Regions from separate parts of the Homo sapiens genome. Here region 2 is linked to region 1. Evidence: promoter capture Hi-C in 16 types of primary human blood cells and fetal thymus (Javierre and others, 2016). All regions are on one chromosome and are shown on one strand. The core of a region is centred on a gene start or on the middle of the fragment in contact, and the rest is flanking DNA. Distances in the headings are between cores, read along the strand shown.

Region 1 (6,750 bases), core at 4,048-6,547:
CAGCCCTTGGGATGAGGGGACTCCTGCCTTCTCCTGCTTCTCTGACCTCTGCTCCCTGGATGCCTTATGTAGATTCTGGTTCCCTGGTCCTGGAATCCTCACTGCTGCTTCTGATCCGGTGGGATAATAATGAGGTTACATGGTGAGAAGGCCACCCAGGTATTGTAATTAGTAGCCACACCAAGCCAGCTCTATTGGGTGGGTGATTAGAAAATTTTTTTTTCTAATCTTAACACTTATTATACTAAAACTATCTACTTAAGTATTTTCCCCCCAGATGGAGAGTTTCTTGAGGGCAAGAACTGAGTTTATTTTTCTTTATATCCAGAGTGCCTAGAATATAGAAATTAACTGGTAAATGTTGGCTGAACTGAGGTTGGGAATGGGAGGGAAAGTGTATAGGGGATGATGCTCTGATGTCAGCTTCCTGGGCTGACCCTGAAGAAAGAAGGAAACGTGGGCATTTGTGGTTGTCAGTCCCACCCCTCTCTTGGGGGAGTGGCCCTTGGACAGGGCAGGAGGCTGCTCAACCTTGGCCTTGACTGCAAAGGTCTCTGGGTCTTGCTGTGTGCTTCACCCAGACCTCATCCTGATGCGCGCCCAACCCATCCATGGTTCATCATCCACCGTGTCTGCAGTTCCCTCAGGGAGAGATTCTTTTGTACTGGCATGCAGGCCAGTGGGATGAGAGGGGCAGTAAATCTGGGAGCAAGTGGGAAGCTGCAGGCCGAGTGCACACAGTACTCAGCGCAAGGGAGGTGCTCCAATATCAGGAAAAAGATACAACGGCTCTTTCATTTCTCTCCTTTCTTTTTTCAGATTATAAAGTAATACATGTTCACAGGGACAAAATACAAAAGTATAAAAGCCTTCTGTCCTCCTCAATCTACTCCCTAACATTAACTACTGTTAACAATTCTTTTTTATTTGTTTATTTTTTTGACACACAGTCGCATTCCTCGCCCAGGATGGAGTGCAGTGGCACGATCTCGATCTCGGCTCACTGCAACCTCCACCTCCTGGTTCAAGCAATTCTCGTAGCTGGGATTACAGGCGCACACCACCAACCCGGCTTATGTTTGTATTTTTTCTAGAGACGGGGTTTCTCCATGTTGGCCATGCCTAGTCTTGAACTCCCGGCCTCAAGTGATCCTCCCACCTCAGCCTCCCAAGGTGGTGAGATTACAGGCATGAGCCACTGCGCCTGGCTGTGCTGTTAACAATTCTTGACATCTTCTGGAAATGTGCTATTTTACAAAAGCACGTATACATATAGCTTGCATATACAAAATGTGTGTATGTGTTCACATGCAGATAGATATATAAACAGACAGAATTTGATGGTGTCATGAGACAGAAAGAGAAAATGGTAGCCCACAGGTATAAAGTAGGGGTGTTGGGGTGAAGGCAGACTTGAAAGGGGCTGTTGATGGACCAGGTAGGAGGGCCTGAGGAGAAGTGATGGAATACAAGGATGGAAGCAAGGATGGGGCAGGAGAGTCTTAATATTTGTGTTGCAAAAAAATTTTGCAGTTTAGGAGGTGAGAAATCCAACATCCAGTTAGCCTCAGTTTCCTTAACTAAAAAATGGGATAATGATGTATATTCCTCACAGGTTTATAGTGATGATTAGAAGGGGCGAATATATATATAAACAAACATACATATATGTTTGTTTGTTTTTTGGACAGAGTCTCGATCTGTCACCCAGGCTGGTATGCAGTGGTGCGATTTTGGCTCACTGCAACCTCCGCCTCCCAGGTTCAAGTGATTCTCCCATCTTAGCCTCCTGAGTAGCTGAGACTACAGGCACGTGCCACCACGCCCAGCTAATTTTTGTATTTTTAGTAGAGATGGGGTTTCACTATATCTTGGCCAGGTTGGTCTTGAACTCCTGACCTCAGGTGATCCACCCACCTTGGCCTCCCAAAGTGCTGGGATTACAGGCGTGAGCCACTGTGCCTGGCCAGGGCTAATATATTTAAAGTGCTTAGCATTGCACCTCAAACAATATTCTAAGCATTCTCTCAGCGTGTGCTGCTATTATAGTTGTTGATGTTATTAGGGTGCTGCTATTGTTGCTGTTTTCAGAATGCTTCACGTGGTCCCTGGCCCGTGAGTGAACCTCTATCCATCTGCAGTTGGCATATGGAAAGAACCTCCTGGTCACATTTCTCTTTCCATTTTAGAAATCATTCTTTTGTTGTGACACTGTCTTTTCATTTTCCTTCCCTGACTGCTCTTAACTTCCTACTTTATGCTGTGCACTCTTGAAGAAAACTTTCTGGTACCTGATGGTTATAAATCCTTGGAGGCGCGTGAAGATGTTTTAGGTAGTAAAGGGCAGTGGCCATTTTCTCACTTTGTCTCCCTGGCCTGGTCTTAAGCTGTTGGGCATTCTTTAGTCAGGAACATCTTCTTATTTGCTGTACTTCACACATACTGCCTAAGGATATCAATTAGAATTGCTTACTTAAGAAAAATGCCCAGCAATCGTTAAGGCCACTCTTGTTCATTTCCTGCATTTTTTTTTTTTTTTTTTTTGAGATGGAGTCTCACTCTGTTGCCCAGGCTGGAGTGCAGTGGCGTGATCTTGGCTCACTGCAACTTCCGCCTCCTGGGTTCAAGCGATTCTTCTCCTGCTTCAGCCTCCCCAGTAGCTGGGACTACACGCTCCCGCCACCTCACCAGGCTAATTTTTGTATTTTTAGTAGAGACTGGGTTTCACCACGTTGGTCAGGCTTGTCTCAAACTTCCGACCTCAAGTGATCTGCCTGCCTTGGCCTCCAAAGTGCTGGGATTACAGGCGTGAGCCACTGCGCCCAGCCCATTGTCTTCATTTTAAGAGCACTGACTCTGCTGCTCCTCTTGAGACATCTTGGGCAGTGATTCTGTTCTTCTGGGATACTCTGGGTGTTTCTACTTGTATTTAGAATGGCTGGCTTAAAAGTCTTTGTTTGAATATTCCGCATTCTGAATGCTCTTAGTTGTCAGTAAAACTATGCCTGCCTACGCACTCTTCTATTTCTGATTTAAAAATAGGTTCAGCTGCCTAACAATTACACATACTCTATTTTGCACGCGCACATTACTTAAGGAGACATTTAGAGGGTAGATAGCTTTTATTCCTATGAGTTATCTTGAAATCATCTTCTTAACTATCTTTTTTTCCCCAAAGGGGCCATATTTTGAAGGATTTGTGATGAGACTTTTGGTCTGTGAAGCCCAAGACACAATCTCCAACATGCACAGGAAATCCAGTATCAAATTTCTAACATGTCTTCAGAGACAGGCCCAGGGCTGGCTTGAGCGTGTCAGAGAGGTGTGCACTGCGTACTACCCATCATACATGGCCACACATGCCTGTGGCTGTGAGAAATACTGGTGGTGACAAAGACAATGAGATGCCAGAGAAAAAGATCAGTGGGGTTTGCAAAAGTGATTAAGATGTCGTCCTAGGTATAATTAAAGACTTAATAAGGTTGAAGGAAAGAGAGGACATTGCACATACCGAGGCCCCTGAGAGATCTGCCTGGCAACCCAGAAAGGGACATATGGGGGAAAACGCCTTAGTGTAACCAGGTCAGAATTTTCATTCTGGGCAGAACTGGAATTTGAATAATAATACTGAGTCATATAGCGCATACAGCTATGACATTTCATTTATTTCTCTATATAATGCAATAAAGTAGATGGATTAACCGTGACGTTTACAGATGGAGCAGGGGAGAATGAAGAGGCGTCAGTTTGGGCATCAGGCTGGATCTTCACACTCTGACCTCACTCTGCTCTATCCTGCCCAGTGTTGCTTCACCTGATATCAGGGGTGCAAGGCAACCAGATCTGACACCAGTTTCAGTTTAGATCCTGCCTTTACCTGGGTGTGACCCGGGTCCATCTCTTCAGCTCGGCCTCTGCTTTCTCTTCATAAACTTTTGGGGTTAGTCCTCGGATGATCTCTAAAACATGGCCCAGGTGCTCCTTGCCAGTAGAGTGTAGCCGGATTTGGAGGGACTGGACACTCAGTGTGAACAAGACGAAGGCCTCAGGAGGCAGTAAAAGCTGACAAGAGGAGAGAAAATGAAGCGCCTACGGGTGCATACTGGACTAGCGGGCGAAAGGCCATGACTCCTTAGTTTGGAGAAAGAACTGGGGCCGAGATTGGGGAAGTTTCCCAGTGCAATTAAAAAAAAAAAAAAAAAGAACTAGAAGAATTACCCAGGTCTGGCTTCTTTCGTGTAGCCTGGGGCTGAGTCGCAGGCTGAGAAATCCAGTCTGGCCAGTAGGGGGCTCCACCAAGCGCAGTCTCAGAATGCCCAAGAGCTCCACCGTCGCCCGGGGTCTCCACCAAGCGCAGTCTCAGAATGCCCAAGAGCCCCACCGTCGCCCGGGGTCTCCAAGAGGAGTGGGTCGTGGTGGGCGTTGAAGGGCCGTAAAAGACGAGCAGCCCGCGTCCGCGTCCGTCCTCCCGGGTCTCCAGTCCGCAGGCGGCCGCCGCCTCGGCCCCGCCCTCCCACCTCCATTCCCGGCCCCGCGGACCCGAACGGTCCCTCTCGCAACCGATCTGCTGGCTGGGGCGCTGGGGATGCGAATTCCTAGAAGCCTTAAGAGGCTGCCCAGCGTTGGAAGTTCGTATCCCCAAGAATGCTGGAGGTTCCGGCTCACACACCCCCTCCGGGCACAGAGTCAGCTGGGGGGTGCTGGGAGGGAGAACGCCCCGCTCCTCACCCCCCATCCCCGTGCACCCTGGAGCCCAGCTCCATACGTTCGGCCACCCCAGGCGGACTCGGGGTGGCCGGGTAGCGGGTGGTGGCAGGAGGGGACCGGGTAACGGCAGGCCCGAGAGGAGGTCGCTGGGCCGGGCCGGAGGCGCACAGGGGCTGCGTGGCTACCTCGGCGGCACCCGCCCCACCTCCGCCGGCTAAGCCCGGAGGGGGACGGTGAGTCAGATCTCGGGCACCCGCGGGTCGGGCGGGGAGGGGGAGGCAGGTCAGGAAATGACATCAGAGGCCTGTGCTCAGGGAGTGGGGGTCTGAGCCGGGCTGGGGCGGCGGGGGCGGCAGTGAGTGGGGTGGGGGCGAGCGGACCTCGGCGGAGCCTCCGGCCTGAGGCAGGATCAGGGCCCCTTCCTGGGGGAGTTTCCTGCCTGGTCCGCCCTTCCCCGCTCTCCCCGCCCCCTCTCCGGGCCGCTCCTTGTATGGTCTGGGCGCCGCTCTCTCCCCGCCCCCTCTCTTCTCCCTCCCTCCTCCTTCCGTGTGTCCCTCCCCGCCCGGCTGGAGGCTGCTCCGGACCGGGACGCAGAGTCTGCGGACCCGGCGCCGAGGCGGCCACCCGAGACGCGGCGCGCACGCTCCGGCCTGCGGTGAGGCGCGGGGAGCGGCAGGGCGGCCCCACGGGGAGGGGGCGCGGGGCGCCGGGAGGGGGCGAGTGGGGGTCACCAAGGGGAGCTGGGACCGCCTGGGGCTCCTGAGCCCGGCTCCGCGCTGCGTAACCCGGCGACCCACCCCAGCAGCCCGGCCCGGCCATGGCGGCCCCCCGCCCGTCTCCCGCGATCTCCGTTTCGGTCTCGGCTCCGGCTTTTTACGCCCCGCAGAAGAAGTTCGGCCCTGTGGTGGCCCCAAAGCCCAAAGTGAATCCCTTCCGGCCCGGGGACAGCGAGCCTCCCCCGGCACCCGGGGCCCAGCGCGCACAGATGGGCCGGGTGGGCGAGATTCCCCCGCCGCCCCCGGAAGGTATGCGGCGGGGCTTGGGGAATGTACCCCGGCAGGAGCCGGGGTGGGGGGCAGTCGTTTCGGGAATTTGGGGATGTCTGGAAAGGTTGTTGCCGAGGGGGCTGGGCGCAGCCACCCTGTCCCGAGCAGATGTTCTTACCTCATCGTGGAGCTCGTGGCTGGGAGCCAGGGCTCCTGGGACCGTTCCAAGTCCCCCGCCTGGGAGTGGGAGTCGGGAATGTGGGGCACGAATCTTCCCCTCCGGGTCCGTTTTCCGAAGTGTAACGGGAGCTGCACCACTCCTCGGCAGTGCGCCCGGCCTTTCCTGACCTGGTACTCCCAGGGCGCCCTGCGCCCCTCCTTTGCTTCCCCACACGCTCTGGGACCCCTGAGAGAGTTCTTGGGTTAGGGGTTAGAGCGGTTAACTGAGGGGAGCTTGGGTGAGGGGTAGAGGGACCCCGGCCGACGTCTTTCTCCTTCCTACCCCAGACTTTCCCCTGCCTCCACCTCCCCTTGCTGGGGATGGCGACGATGCAGAGGGTGCTCTGGGAGGTGCCTTCCCGCCGCCCCCTCCCCCGATCGAGGAATCATTTCCCCCTGCGCCTCTGGAGGAGGAGATCTTCCCTTCCCCGCCGCCTCCTCCGGAGGAGGAGGGAGGGCCTGAGGCCCCCATACCGCCCCCACCACAGGTACGGAGGCCTGGGAGGGGCGGCTGCACTGGACACCCCCAAGGAGAGGAGAAGAGGGCCCTTTCTTCTTACCTCCCCTGCACCTCTGCCTTGGGGGTGGGGGGATAGAGGCATGGAATAGGTGCTCTGACCTCTGACCCTCTAGCCCAGGGAGAAGGTGAGCAGTATTGATTTGGAGATCGACTCTCTGTCCTCACTGCTGGATGACATGACCAAGAATGATCCTTTCAAAGCCCGGGTAAGGGACCGGAGAGTAGGAAAAGCAGGGCTCAGGGCCAGAGAGACTGGGCATAGAACTAAGGAGGATGGTGTCCTCCTGACTGCATCTCTCTTCCCTCTCCCACCCCTTG
Region 2 (6,761 bases), core at 356-2,855, 380 kb before region 1:
CCAGATTATTCCACCAAATGGAATACATACATTATTTCCCTGTACACAATATCTAAATGACAATTTCTAGAAGAGGAATTGCTAGGCCAAAGCGTAAAAGCATTTGTCACTTTAATATATATTACATAATTGCCCTTCATGCAGGCTATTACATTTTACACTACCTATTTTCACGCAGTGTACTATAAAACTTTTTGACATTTGCCAGTTTAATAACTGAAAATAGTATCTTAATATGGCTTTAATTTTTATTGTTCTCCTTATGAATGAAGATGAAAATATTCTCACATGTGCTTATCTTTTGCCCATTTTTCTGCTGAGTAGTTTTATTTTTTTCTTATAGGAGCTTTTTACACATGATGCAAACTAACCTTTTGTGATATGAGTTGAAATTGTTTTCTGGTGTTTTCGTGTGTCTGTTTACCTTGGGGTAGTATTAACCATAGCAAATTTTTAAAAAATTCTTCATAAAGTCAATCTTCTATGACATCTGTGTTTTAAGTCATCCTAAGAAAGGTCTTACCCATTTTTATAAACATTCTTTTATTTCTTATGTTAAATCTATGTTTTTTTTTTACATTTAAATATTTGACCCATTTTAAACAGCCTGGTATGACATAGGCAGTAATGGAATTAACTTTTGTTTTTTAGGTAGCTGCTAGTTTGTTTGACCATTTATTGAATAATTCATTTTTTCCCAATGATAGTACTGTTTACATTATAGCTATATAGTCTGTTTTACAGATGTAGTTATTCCTCATTATGCTTCTATTTCAGAATGTTTTTGAAAATTTTTTGCTTGTTTATTTTTCCATAATAAAAAGTTTAATCTAAGCTGGGCACGATGGCTCACATGTGTAATCCCAGCTATTCAGGCGGCTGAGGTGGGAGGATCACTTGAGTCCAGCAGTTCAAGTCTGTAGTGAGCTATGATCATGCCACTACACTCCAGCCTGGCTGACAGAGCAAGACTCTGTCTCTAAAAATATAAATGAATGAAATAATGCATGAATAAAATGTAATCTGCTTCTCTAGATTTAAAAAATACTATTGATTTTTAAATTGTGATTGTATCATTTTTATGGATACACTTAGAGGAGAATTGATATCTTTGTATTGTTTACTCCACCTTTCCATTTGCTCAAATCTACTTTTGTGTCTTTCAGGAGCATTTTTTTAAATGTCAATCTAGTTTAAATGTAAATCTTTACTTGTTAAGCTTATTCCTAATAATGTTATATTTCTTTGCTTTTGCTTTTGTAAATGAGGTTCTTTCCTTCCATTATATTTTCTAACTTAATGTGTTTTATATGTGAAGTCTTTTGACTCTCAATATAAATTTTGTGCCCAGCCACATTGGTTTTTTACTTTATTTTGTTGAGATTTCCAGATAAACAAATTATTTAAAATTCATGTTAATCTTTTTTTCTCCTCCTTTTTAACATCTTGGCCCTGCATTTTTTTTCTCTTGTCTAATTGCATAGGCTAACATGCCAGAAATTTTAATTAGTTTACATAGAGATGCAGTACATAAATTTAAATTGAAGATCTGTCATTACATAAGACAAAGGGTATGTGTGTTATTATTTATTTTAGATTGGTCCATCCTCTCACCAGGAGCTCAGGCAGCTGTTAAACTCTGGAAAGAGGGCCTAAAAAAGATAGGGGTATGGATAATGGAAGCCCTGCATAAATTCTAAGCAAAGTGGCAGAAAGCACTTTCTAACCCACCATCCTGCCTCGAGGGAGGGCAAAGACTGATGTTAATGTCTTTGCTGACCTCTTCTGGCAAATCTGAAGTTAGCCAGAAGATGGAAGATTTGATTGGTTATTTTTTTCACTTCGATTTCATATGATCACAAAGTCCCTGGGTTTGCCTGATTCGCCTGTTTGAAAAGATTTTTCAATATCCCAGAAGTTGTTTTTAAAGTCCACACTTTCTTTAACCTCTCAGTATTCTTCTTTTCTTCCTCCTCTTTTATAAAATATTCAAAGCTTTATCTCCCTTCCTTCTCTCACATTTTTGGCTGTTCAAATATCTCTTATCCACCATTATCTTCCCCAATTGACTTTATTTCTGAGCTCCAAATTCATGCAGTCCTTGGAAACAGGGCAAATAAATGGGAAGTCAGTTTGCATGTGAAAACTGATCAGCTTGGCTGGAACAGTTTCAGTGGACAGTGGCAAGGAGAATCCAACTTGCTGCGGATTAAAAAAAAATGCATGGGAAGTATGGAAATAATAACAGTGGGTATGTACTTGTATTTCAAAAGCTTTGCAGGAAAGGAGATATAAGATTGGATGGTAACGTAATGGTTAAACAAGGATAAGAAAAGGGCATTCGTTCATTCATTCACTCATTGTTTAGGGTGTGCAGTGGCCCTGCAAATGCCCCTCTCACATCTCTAACGACAGGGAGCATAGCTGACTGGCAGCCCTAGCTGCTATGCTCCAAAATCCTTCTCATGTCTTAGTTAGGTCATGCTTCCCACAGACTGCTCCTAGCTAATGACTGTGGCTGGCAGGGAGCCACTCAGGTAAGCAATGTAAACTCAAGAAGAACTCGGTGCACTTGTTGGACTTTGTTAGAGCTGCACTGCAATCGCAGACTCTTCCACTCAGTCTTCCCACCTTGACTCTCTCCTTCATAATGCTCACGCCCCCATCACTATCTGATGGCTCTCGCTGCCTTCCCAATGCCAGGCTTCTTCCTTCTTCTCCCTCTGTATTTTCCCAAAGAAATTGCTCAGACTTCTGATCCTGCTGGGTGTCTCCTTCTTGGAAGACTCAGCCTACCACAGAGTGGAATAGCCTGGAGCAGGTTTGTAGGGTAAGAGTAGAGGTGAGAAAAGAGTGCTTTACTTCCCATTTCTCAATTGCAGATTTCTTCCCAAATTTTCTAGTCTTTGTCTGTCTGCCAGACTGGTGTGCTGCTGTCTTGCTACACCTTCCCGTCTTTGCATTTTCCTGATGTGACCCTTTACCTTGTCCCAATTCTGAACTTTCTATCTAGCTTTCAACCTAGGTAGACCAAAGGCATCTGAGCAACATCGGTGTACTCCGAGGAAGGCAGCCATCTTCTCCTAGGGTTTTGTTTCGGCTGCTGAAATATTGCCCTCTTGTGGTTGCCTCTATAATGACATATGAAAATTAACATTTTCATATGTCATAGAATTTCAAGGCCACAAGAAATAGGCATTTAGTACCAAAATAATTTAAAGAAGTGCCAGACACAGATCTGTAAGACATTAAAAATGCCATGACAATCCATTGGCCTTTGTTTCACCAGCAACCCATGCTATAAAGAAAAAGAGTGTTTACTAGAGGGAGGAAATTCACGGGAGTAGAGTTTTATAGCTCCTTCTCCCACATGCCCTAGGCAAGGAAAGGCCGTCTCCAAGAGGCTTAGGTCCTTTACTTATCCTATAGAAGTTAGGTCTGTTTCTTAGCCACTTCCTGGTTGAACACAAAGTCCCAGAAGACCCACCCTGGTGCCCCTAGGGGAGTGACATGGTGAGAGAAACTCAGGAAGCAATGTAGCCAAACCCAGGTTCAGCTGCTCACTGCTCAAAAGCCCAGCATGAGACACGAATTGGTGGGAGGAAAAGCATGTTCATTCGGAGAGCCAGCAAACCGAGACGATGATGGAATTGCATCTTAAAGTACCATCTTAAGTCGGTACAAATTGTACCCTTTTTATGTTAATGCTGGAGGAGGAGGAGGGGGTTGGGATGGAGAGGTGACCAATGACCTCAGACATCCGGGCACCAGCGAGGGTCTGAGGAGGCGGGGAACTTTCTTGTCTTCGGTCAGGTCATGATGCTCCTATAAATCTTTAACAAAACTTCATGCAATTGTTTACATAAGTCTCCTTTAATCCCAGAGTTAGTTTTTAAAACTACATGATTGCCGTTTTTGCGTAATATCTCAGTGCTCTAAAATTATCCTAGCCTACATGCAGGCATGGGTAAAGGTCCCTGAAACAAAAATGGAGTTAGTTATGTTAGTTCTCTTGCTGTTTCACTGTTACAGCAATGAACACCTACCTTCAGAGTCTGAGAGAGCAAAGAGTCCTCTTGCCTTATTAGTGGGAAGTTATGATAGCAAGCTGGTATTCCTATCATTGATAGGGCAAAAGGGGCCACGTGGATGCCATGGGAATGATGAACCTTGGTGAAGGTTCCTGGCCCAAAAGTGGTACCTCCTCAAATGAGACCCCAGCACTGAGAGGCTGTAAGTTTAACAAGCACAGGAATTGAAGGGGATCACAAGGCAATGTGAAATGCAGGTGTTCCTACAAGGTATCTAAAGAATCCACAAATGCACCCAGTAAGAAAGATACCGTTTGGATGCTTGCCCCGCAAAAGGGCATCAGCAGCTAGGGATGGGACAAACAGCTCCAGGCAAGTGAAGAGACATCATCCCCTTCCCCTTGACCTCCTCTTCCCTGTCTTAATACCATAGGATCCAGGCAAAGATGGGGGATTGGAGTAGATGAGTAAGGAGGAGTGAAAAGAGCAAACCATTTCTGCTCTCCACCTGCAGGTCTCTAAATAGCCAGTCAGCTCTGATCAGTGGAAAAGAAGTTCTTTAAATTGGATTCAATATTGAAGTTCTAATATAGATTGAAAAGCACAGTTTAACACCTGATAATGGGTCTTCATGAACACTATGAAGGCATTTTTAAGCAAAGCAAGGAAAATTACAGGATCTGCCCTAAATGTGACAGGGGAAGGACAGGGAGATCTGATGGAGCCTGTTGGAGGCAAAGAGAGAGGGAAAAATAAGGTTTTGTCCTATTTCTATCCCATTGAATTTAGCACATTTAATAAATCGACTACACACACCTTAAAACGTCCTTACATAATACAGGATGAATGAAAAGGTTCTGCCAATGAAGTGAATTGAAGTATTGTCAGGGCCCTTTAAGGGAACCCTATATCTTATTCCTAGTTCATGTCACTCCTCTTTAGGGACAAGGATCTTCCAGTGCCTGGGGCTTCTCTAATTTTGTGGACGTCAAATTGTGTAACCCTTATAACCCTTACAGATTCCTGTATTCCCTAAGGCCACTCTTAAGGAGCTCATACAGGGAACAGACAGATTTCTTCTTCTCTTGATCTCAAAAAGCATTGCTCGTGATCGTTTTTGATACTTCAAGACTGCCATATTCTTTCGGATCTGGCCAATGCTGTGTACGTTCAGGAGCATGAAAAGCATATTGTTGCATTTCAACATCACATATAATTTTAAAACTAGTTAGTTACAATAAATTAATGGTTGCTTGGCAACCAAAGAGCTGAGGTTTTGAAAGGAAGTACTCTATTACTGTTCAAATTAGAACAGCAAGACTTGTTGAAATATTCTGAGTTCTGTTGAATTCCTTATGATGGAACCAAACCCAGGGAAAAACAAGGGAACACTCACATTTTACAGCTCAGTTAATTTTAGGAGAGTAGAGAGGAAGTAAATTGCATCTCATCTCCTAGCTTGGGTTGGAACTGCCCAATTTAAGAACAAGTACTAATTAGCTGAAAGTAAAGCTCAGCTGTGACTTGGCTAAAAATGGGACCTCTTGCAAAAATGTACTTAAAACTGCGTGTGATAGATCTGATTCACTTTGCATGTGAAAACTGGACTCATACTGACAAAACAACGTGTGGGGGAAAGAGTTTGGGAGCATTTTTAAGACTTCAAGATGTTTGTTAGAGAAATGACCATCTAGTTTGCCCATAATGTAACCAGAAATAAAATCCAAACTGACATTTTGGCCCAGAGTCTTGATGAGTATCTCTAGCCAACATTCACTTGGTTGGCTAATGGTCAATCTAATAACCAAGAAATAGAACTGGATATCAGAACAACAGTTTTGATAAAATAAAGGAAAGGAAGACAGGCTGGATAATTCGGAGCTTTCTAACAGGGTTTTGGAAATGTGCATAAAGTTTTGGAGAAAATTTAACCAATCGTTTTGAAGCCTTCCATTAGTAGCAACTCAAAACTATTCAAAAGACTGAATGGTGAATTAACTCATTTTATTTTGAAACTCCTCTGTGCTTAGCTTTTGACTGAATTTAAATTTCTGTTGGAGCAAGCTAAGTTGTTTTAATTTTGATGTTCAAGTCAATTAACCTCTTATTGTGACTTTTTGCCTTAGTTATACAAATAAAATTTTATATAATGTTGGAGACTCAATCATTTTGATGCTGACATTTCTTAATCCTACACATGGTCACATACCCTGGAAAGATATACAAGGCTCTGAAAACACAGCTGCCACGGGGAAGTGAGATTGGATGGCTGGGAAAGAGATTGCTTTTCATGTTATTTGTTTTCACGTGGTCCTATACTTGTGTACTTTTTGAACTTTATGCCATATGAATTTATTAATAATTTGACAAATCAATTTAAAACCAACTTTAAAATCAAATTTCAAATGCATGTGGTTCAAAGAAAAGCACCATGATAGAATTGAAAGAACAGGATCTGGAATTAGGGACCTGAATTTGAATCTCCTCTTGGCGTTTGTGTAGTTAGGAGAACTCGGGCAAGTTACCTGACATCTCTGAATCCCTGTTTTCCTTATCCTTAACGTGGGACAGAGTATTTAATTTACATGGTTTGGTGAGGACAAGGCAGGTAATATCTCTCTGACAGACCTACTTCATGGCATGTGCTCCATGGACTGGTTATATTATTGGTAGCATTCAATATATTCAGTAAAAACAGTATAATGTGTGCCTTCTGTAATCCCCAAGGAG

The links. The method cuts DNA at HindIII sites, captures the fragments that hold promoters and counts their contacts. A CHiCAGO score of 5 or more calls a contact.
Region 2: a fragment that was not itself captured here is called in contact with the fragment with the promoter of ZYX in region 1 in 4 of 17 cell types (neutrophils, monocytes, naive CD8 T cells and 1 more); the score reaches 7.9 in neutrophils.

Annotation. Positions count from the first base shown.
Region 1 is chr7:143,376,048-143,382,797 of GRCh38, forward strand. ZYX (zyxin) reads left to right here and starts at 5,298. Exons shown (of 10, transcript NM_003461.5): 1 at 5,298-5,362; 2 at 5,510-5,732; 3 at 6,201-6,400; 4 at 6,546-6,638. The coding sequence starts at 5,525. FAM131B-AS2 (FAM131B antisense RNA 2) reads right to left here and starts at 4,978. Exons shown (of 2, transcript NR_161353.1): 1 at 4,219-4,978; 2 at 3,108-4,062. It overlaps MIR6892 (microRNA 6892), which reads left to right and starts at 6,639; the gene lies at 6,639-6,750. It also overlaps a transcript of FAM131B not described here. RefSeq lists enhancers at 3,858-3,937, 4,094-4,994, 4,118-4,207 and silencers at 4,708-5,737, 5,768-5,817. The HindIII fragment of the contact is 8,995 bases long and covers 1-6,750 here.
Region 2 is chr7:143,000,527-143,007,287 of GRCh38, forward strand. No RefSeq gene overlaps it. Among named protein-coding and RNA genes, the nearest start is that of OR9A2, 23 kb to the right of the region's middle. The HindIII fragment of the contact is 776 bases long and covers 1,218-1,993 here.